Regions from separate parts of the Homo sapiens genome. Here region 1 is linked to region 2. The links are contacts of gene promoters, found by promoter capture Hi-C in human tissues and cell types (Jung and others, 2019). All regions are on one chromosome and are shown on one strand. The core of a region is centred on a gene start or on the middle of the fragment in contact, and the rest is flanking DNA. Distances in the headings are between cores, read along the strand shown. Region 1 overlaps TMEM44 (transmembrane protein 44). Region 2 holds the start of GP5 (glycoprotein V platelet).

What was found. Contacts are between HindIII fragments. The study calls those that stand out against the background at their distance.
Region 1: a contact is called between a fragment that was not itself captured here and the fragment with the promoter of GP5 in region 2, in 3 of the 25 tissues and cell types used here (IMR-90 fibroblasts, bladder and stomach).

Annotation. Positions count from the first base shown.
Region 1 is chr3:194,607,317-194,611,449 of GRCh38, reverse strand. It overlaps TMEM44 (transmembrane protein 44), which reads left to right. Exons shown (of 10, transcript NM_001011655.3): 8 at 430-534. Among named protein-coding and RNA genes, the nearest start is that of TMEM44-AS2, 24 kb to the left of the region's middle. The HindIII fragment of the contact is 4,521 bases long and covers 275-4,133 here.
Region 2 is chr3:194,397,752-194,401,849 of GRCh38, reverse strand. GP5 (glycoprotein V platelet) reads left to right here and starts at 2,584. Exons shown (of 2, transcript NM_004488.2): 1 at 2,584-2,612; 2 at 3,566-4,098. The coding sequence starts at 3,568. RefSeq lists enhancers at 648-1,200, 1,201-1,754. The HindIII fragment of the contact is 10,737 bases long and covers 1-4,098 here.

The DNA.
Region 1 (4,133 bases), core at 1,286-3,785, 210 kb before region 2:
TCACTCCAGATCGCTGCTCAGCTGGGGATCTTAAAAAGCAGAATAGGCCGGGTGTGGTGGCTCACGCCTGTCATCCCAGCACTTTGGGAGGCCGAGGTGGGAGGATCACTCGTGGATCACTTGAGCCCAGGACTTTGAGACCAACCTGGTCAGTACAGTGAAACTGGTCTCTACAAAAAATAAAATAAAATAAAAAAGATTCCTAGCTGATTCTACTGTGTTGCAAAATTTGGGAAACACTAAATGACTGTGGCCTCGAAGAGAAAGATAAGACACATCTTATAGGAAGCAGAAAGTGAGACGTGCCGTTAAAAAAGAGAGAGAGAAAATACCACGGGGGTCCTTTTGAATAAAATGTGACCTTGTTTTTAGAAAATGCCTCCTGACTTTGAGAATTCCCCTTTCTGTCTCCCTGCCTCTACTTGCAAGAATTTGGATTGGGTGCCTCTCACCACACTGTCACACTGCAAGTCACTGAGGACAATGACAGCAATCAGTCGCTACATGGAGCTGACCATCGAGCCTGTGCAGCAGGTGAGTGGCCATCGGTCATGGCCAGGTGTCTGAGAGGATGGGAAGCAGTCATGGAAGGCTTCCTGGAGGAGGTGATGCTTTAGCTGAGGGATGAGCAGGAGAAAACAAGAGAAGCAGGTAAAAAAGAAGGAGCTGTCCAAGGCTGCAGTGGAGGGGCAGATATGGGGGAGTGTTGGAGAGAAAAATATTTTCCCTGTCCCCTCTGATGAAACACAGAGTAACAAGAAAAAACAGCTTTAAATGTACAAAGAAAAATGTGGCTCAAGGAGGTGGCCAGTTGATGGAGGCGTATATACCATATTAGGCTAAATCAAGAAAAAGAGGTTTGGGGTTCTGGGGTGGGAGGCAAGGTGAGGGAGGACCTGTGTGGGAAATAAGGGTTTTCTTGCTATGCAGGTGAGAGTCTCTCGGGTGGAAGTAGCTCTCTTCCTGGTGCAGAAATATCTTTACAAATGGAAATTTCCTTTATGAAAGGGAAAATGTGTACTCTCTTTTCAGGCAGTTAGGGGAGGTTAATAGCTTCTGCTTCTGCTGGTTTTCAAAGACCTTTAGATCTAAGGAATCCATATGCTAAAGAGGCATATTTCGGGGTGGTATATGCTGGTACCATTTAGGAGTGAGGGGAGATGAAAGGGCTGGAGGAGGCAGGGGTCGGGTCGTTTAGACACGGAGTCTATCATCTTTTTCTCTCTTTTTTTTTTTTGAGACACTCTGTCGCCCAGGCTGGAGTACAGTGGCATGATCTCAGCTCACTGCAGCCCCCCGGGTTCAAGTGATTCTCCTACCTCAGCCTCCAGAGAAACTGAGACTACAGGAGCCTGCCACCACGCCCAGCTAATTTTTGTATTTTTACTAGAGACGGGGTTTCACCATGTTAGCCAGGCTGGTCTCGATCTCTTGACCTCGTGATCTGCTGGCCTCGGCCTCCCAAAGTGCTGGGACTACAGGTGTGAGCCACTGCGTCCGGCCGTGTCTATCATCTTGAGAGTGATGGGAGTCAGGAGGCTTGAGTACTGGAGACTCAGGGTCAGATGTGCATTTTAGAGCCATCTGGGGAAGTTGTTGCGGGTGGCCTGGGGGAGAGGAGAGTAGCAGCCGAGCAGTCAGTCAGGGCCAGTTGGAAGCCCGAGGAAAAGGAAGTGTGGCCTAAACTGAGGTTGGAGCAGACGGAGAAGCAGAGACAGAGTTGAGCGAGTTGGGAAGTGGAGCGCTGGAGGGGTGAGGAGGTGCGGGTGAGGGAGGCAGGGCTCCGGGTGACTCCCTGAGTTCTGGCCTACACGAGGGGTCCTCAGGAGGAAGAGAATTGGGAAAGAGGTGACGAGAAGTTCACCCCATGTCCCACTATTCCACCAAGACTGTCTTGTCGAGGTCACCGATGACCTCCAAGCTGCTAAGTCCACCATCATTCCATTCTGAGAGTCCACGCACTCGGCCACCAGCTGCTCCTGGCGTCTGTGGCCCCCACTCTTCTGTGTTTCCTGCCACCCTCACAGGCTCTTCTTTCCCCTCGGCCTCTGCTGGCTCCTCTGGGTAAGCTTGACTGTAGAGAGGGAGTCCAACGCCCTGTCCCAGGCAGGCTCCCTGCTCCTGGTGGGCCCTGCAGTCCCACAGTCCCCTCGCTCTGCACACCAGTTCTTGCTGACTTCCCCCATTCGTGTCTCCGTCCTTTCCCCTCCCCTCAGTTCCCATCTCGGCTGCCCAGCTGCCCATTCAGCTGTCACCATATGGCATCTCACGCTTACCTCGTCCAACACAGAATTCTGGATTTCCATGCCCAGACCGGCTCCTCTCCCCATCTTCCTCATCTTAGTAAATGACGCACTGTCTTTGCAGTGGTTCAAGCCCAAAATTCCTCTTTCCCTGGCCACACCCCCATGCCCATCCATTCCTTTTGAGAGTCCTGTAAATGCTTCCTTATTTAAACTAGGTCTTGAGTCCAGCAGCCTCCTGGCTGTCATCCTCTCCACTTCTTCTGTGGTCCTGCCCTGCCCATCTCTAACGAGCAGCCAGAGGGATCATTCACAAATGTAAATGACATCTTGTTCCTCCTTTGTTTAAAACACTCCTCTGGGCCAGAGCTCTTGGTGGCCCACACCTGTAATCCTAATACTTTGGGAACCTGAGGTAGGAGTATCGCTTGAGGCCAGGAGTTCGAGACCAGCCTGGACCACATAGCGAGACCCCATCTCTCGTCTCCTGTTCACTCCTGTCTAGCTGCACAGAGTTTCTCTCCATTCCTCTGCCCAGAATGCTCTCCCTCCTGATTTTTCACAGCTGCCTCTTTCTTGTCTTTCCAGCTTCAACGTAAATGTCTGCTTCTCCAGAGCTCTTCCCTAACCACCCAGTCCGAAGCAGGACCCGTCTGTCCTTCTCCTCTATTTTATTACCTATTGAAATTCTCTGCAAAGCACTTATCACGATCTTTTACTTTGGTTTGTCTGTGTCCTGCTGAGATGTAAACTTTATCTCCTGTCTCGTTGACTCCTGGTGCCTATAACCTTGCAGTCCTGGGCTCTCAGTAAAGGTGTGTTTTGAATATATGGTCCAGTGGTGAGGGCCCCTGCCAGGCTGCCCAGACACACCGGTGCCCGGAGAGACTCGGCTGAGAGAGAGGTTTTGCTGTTTGCTGTTGTTGCTCCTTGTATACTGGGTGCACAGAACCTTGTGTATGACCTAAGTGAAGTTCAGAGAGATTCAGAGCATGCCTTTGTAGCTAAGAGCCCACTTCAGCCATTAAACCATCCTTCCGAAGGGAGGGAGGAGGCAGGGTGTGTGGGGAACCCTTGGGAAGGCACGGGAGTTCCTGCAGCATCTGGCCAAAGCTTTGCACTGGGAAGTTCTACATCATGGGACTTCTGAAGGAGAATGTGTAAAAGTTGTATTCACTTTAACCCTTCCAGTAGCTCAGTGTCGAAGGGATTCTTGTTGGGGAACAGACTCCATGAAAGAAGAGTGTGTTCCACCTTCATTCCCTCCCACTGAAGCCCACAAGTGCGTCTTTGAGCTTCCACCCAGCTTTTTCCTTCTGTGTCCATCAGAGGGCTAGAGGGAGCCCCGAGCCCCACTGTCCAGCTGGGCTGGCAGGTGCCTCCCTCAGCACTAGGGGCACCCCTCCCATCATAGCCTGTCTACTGAGGGTTAGGGACTTGCCAGGCTCTGAGTAAACAACAGCAGCCAACACTTACGTGGTACTTATGGGCCAGAGTACTGGTCTAAGTGCTTTACACACATTAACTTGCCCCACAGCCGACTCCTGAGTATTATACTCATTTTACAGATAAGGAAACTGGGGGCTGGAGCAGTTAAGTGACCTGCTCAAGGTCACACAGTTTGTCAGTGATAGAACCGGATTCAGACCTGTCTCTACCCGAGTTTGTGCCATTGACCTCTATGCTGTACAGCCTTGTACTTGGCATAATGACACCAAGTAAACACTTGATAAATGGCGATTTATTATTAATAAAATAATACTGTTTACCATGTAAGTGTTAATAAAAATGAGCCCAACAACTGTATGAGGAAGGATCCTAGTGTGTTTTGCATTGCCATAAAGGAACACCTGAGGCTGGGTAATTTAGAAAGAATAGAGGTTTATGTGG
Region 2 (4,098 bases), core at 1,335-3,834:
AAGCACTGGAGCTGTCAACTTCCTTGCTCCAAATACTTCTCATTACCTCATCAACTTGCTCAGTGGATGGACTAAGAGTGTTCCCCCACTCTGCAACTGCCATACCTACTTTTCCCTTCCTGGACAATCAAAGTGTCTTCCTAAGGGACAAAATGTAGAGGCCATTCTGACTGGAGGTTTTCCTGGGGAAATAGGCTAAAGAAGGGCCACAGGAATTTGAGCCATCGGCATCTTACTCTGTTTCACAGCTCGCCTTCCCAGTCTGTCATGTTGGCTCCCTGGCAATTTCATGGGCAAGGGGGCGGGGAGGCTTTCACTCGATGTGCCTATGCATGACGGACTTACCAGGTCACCAGTGTAGCAGTTCAGGGCTCTGGAGTTGCATTCCTTGATCGGAACTGAAAGACCTCCCGCGATACCTGGCAGAGGCAGTGGCTCTTCCCTGTGGTCCAGGGCTGCGTGACTTTGAAGGTAATTTCAGTCAACCCAGCCTTTACTGGGCTCTGACTGCATTAGGCTGCATCAAAGGGGATTGGATCCCATGATTCTTTATATCTTCTGACATTAAGCCTTTGTCAGCTATAGGTGTTACAAATATCTTTAGTTTGTGGTTTATCTTTTCCCCTTTTTTATGGTGTCTTGAAGGATAGAAGTCTTTTTTTTTTTTTTTTTTTTTTTTATTGATCATTCTTGGGTGTTTCTCGCAGAGGGGGATTTGGCAGGGTCATAGGACAACAGTGGAGGGAAGGTCAGCAGATAAACAAGTGAACAAAGGTCTCTGGTTTTCCTAGGCAGAGGACCCTGCGGCCTTCCGCAGTGTTTGTGTCCCTGGGTACTTGAGATTAGGGAGTGGTGATGACTCTTAACGAGCATGCTGCCTTCAAGCATCTGTTTAACAAAGCACATCTTGCACCGCCCTTAATCCATTTAACCCTGAGTGGACACAGCACATGTTTCAGAGAGCACAGGGTTGGGGATAAGGTCACAGATCAACAGGATCCCAAGGCAGAAGAATTTTTCTTAGTACAGAACAAAATGAAAAGTCTCCCATGTCTACTTCTATCCACACAGACCCGGCAACCATCCGATTTCTCAATTTTTTCCCCACCCTTCCCGCCTTTCTATTCCACAAAACTGCCATTGTCATCATGGCCCATCCCCAATGAGCCGCTAGGCACACCTCCCAGACGGGGTCGTGGCCGGGCAGAGGGGCTCCTCACTTCCCAGTAGGGGCGGCCGGGCAGAAGCGCCCCCCACCTCCCGGATGGGGCGGCTGGCCGGGCAGAGGGGTCCTCACTTCCCAGTAGGGGCGGCCGGGCAGAGGCGCCCCTCACCTCCCGGATGGGGCGGCCGGCCGGGCGGGGGGCTGACCCCCCCACCTCCCTCCCGGACAGGGCGGCTGGCCGGAAGTCTTAATGCAGACAGCATTATCAGTGTGTTCAAAAGACACGTAGACACGTTTTGCCTATAGACAAATGGGCAAAAGGAAACCCAGCTTTCTCAAATGAAGCACAAGTGGGCCTTAATTATGTGAAAAGGTGTTCAAGTTCATCATTAAACAGGGAAAGGAAAAGTTAAAATCATGCTGAGATATCTTTCATAGAAATGGCAAAAAGCAGGAAGTGCCACGTGTGGGCAGAGAGGAAGCACAGGAACTCTCACAAATGGCAGGTGTCATCGTAGACCAACACAACCACTTTGGAGAGCAGTTTGACTTTCCCCAGTTAAACTGAACATGTGAGCGGCCGGGCGTGGTGGCTCATGCCTGTAATCCCAGCAGTTTGGGAGGCCGAGGCGGGCGGATTGCCTGAGCTCAGGAGTTCAAGACCAGCCAGGGCAACACGGTAAAACCCCGTCTCTACTAAAATACAAAAAATTAGCTGGGCGTGATGGTGTGTGCCTGTAATCCCAGCTACTTGTGAGGCCGAGGCAGGAGAATTGCTTGAACCAGGGAGCAGGAGGTTGCAGTGAGCCGAGATCGCACCACTGCACCCCAGCCTGGGCGACAGAGTCCCCCTCCCCCACCAAAAAAACAACAAGTGAGCATCCTGCAACCTAGCAATGCCATTGTTGAACAAGTTCAAAGATGTTCTTAGCCTTATTAGTCCCAAAAGGAAGAAAAAAATGGAGGATTTGAGAATGTTCTTAGCTTTATTGCTAAGCGGAGAAAGAAAAACAACACATACCAAAAAAAAAAAAAAAAAAAAAAAAAAAAAAAAAAAAAACCTGGGTGGGAAATTAGGGCCATGTGGCATGAAAAGGAAGACCCAGGGGAAGTGTGGCCCATCTAGGGGTGTGGCTACTGCAGTGATCCAGCTGTATCACTGAACTTCCCTGGCATCATAGAGTTATATTGTGCCATTTATGGAAAAACTCTCCCCACTGCTCTTGGCTTTGACAGTAGGAATCAGGTTATATATGGTCTCTCGGTTTGAAGATATTTGTCATTAAAAACCAGAACAAGGGCTCTGAGATAGGGTCCTTTCCTGACCTACTCTGGTAAAGTCTTTATCCTCAGGATGCAAGGATACCACCCTCTTCCTGTGGAAAGTGTCGAATCACATGCAGAGCTCTAAGTCTTTCAGTTACTTTGGAGTGCAGAACCATTTCAGGTAAGGCCAAATATTTTAAACATTAGTATAGGAAATTAGAGGGCTCTTTAGTCTGTGTGTGCATGAGAAGTAAAATTGCACGAGAAGCAATTTATGTAAAATTTCGCTTAGGAAACATTGTTTTGGCAGGTTAGTAGTATGGTGTGCATTTCCCAGAAAATTCAGTGCCGTGAGTATTACCTTTAGTTAAGCATCTTAGAAATAGTAGCTCTTTATGGCTAAGTCAGAAATACTACCCTCAAATTCTATGTGACCCTAGTTATACTGTTGAGCCTTTCTGTGCCTCTGTGCCTTCATCCTTGAATCGGGGATAATATACTTACCTCCTAAGGTTATTGTAAGGATTAAATGCATGTAGTATAAATAAAGAGCTGAGAACAATGCATGGCGTAAAGTGATAGGTATTATTATATGCTTTTGTTGGCTGTTGATTGAAGGTGTTCGCTGTTTTGGGGGTGTCCTTTAATAGAGTAACTTGGTACTGTGGAAATAGCATGATTGTGAGCAAAAGAATCAGATGGTGGTGGCTGCAGACTTTGCTGTTCCCTTCTTGACTGTTGGTTATAGCCAATGCAGGGTAAGTTATAAAGTCAAGAGCAGAGCCGTTTTCACAATGGACATTGCTTTGTGATGTCTGTGAGCTTGAATGTGAGAATGATTATTTTAATTCTCTATGTAAGGACTTTAAAGTATTGGCTATTCGGTAGCTTGAAAACTCTGTAATCTCAATGCTTTAAACTGAGAGTGGAAAATCAATAAAGCAAAAGCATGAGGCCACGCAGTGTAGAATGAGTGTCTTTTCACCACGTAGGGAAATCTGTAGTCCTAAGAAAAGAGGGAGTGAGAATTCTGGCGAAAGGATTGTGCCTCTGCACAAAGTGCAGGATCCCAGGGTTCAGTACAGGCGCGAACGCTCCTGTGTGTTGACCACACTCCCACGGTTGCTTTTTCAGACATGCTGAGGGGGACTCTACTGTGCGCGGTGCTCGGGCTTCTGCGCGCCCAGCCCTTCCCCTGTCCGCCAGCTTGCAAGTGTGTCTTCCGGGACGCCGCGCAGTGCTCGGGGGGCGACGTGGCGCGCATCTCCGCGCTAGGCCTGCCCACCAACCTCACGCACATCCTGCTCTTCGGAATGGGCCGCGGCGTCCTGCAGAGCCAGAGCTTCAGCGGCATGACCGTCCTGCAGCGCCTCATGATCTCCGACAGCCACATTTCCGCCGTTGCCCCCGGCACCTTCAGTGACCTGATAAAACTGAAAACCCTGAGGCTGTCGCGCAACAAAATCACGCATCTTCCAGGTGCGCTGCTGGATAAGATGGTGCTCCTGGAGCAGTTGTTTTTGGACCACAATGCGCTAAGGGGCATTGACCAAAACATGTTTCAGAAACTGGTTAACCTGCAGGAGCTCGCTCTGAACCAGAATCAGCTCGATTTCCTTCCTGCCAGTCTCTTCACGAATCTGGAGAACCTGAAGTTGTTGGATTTA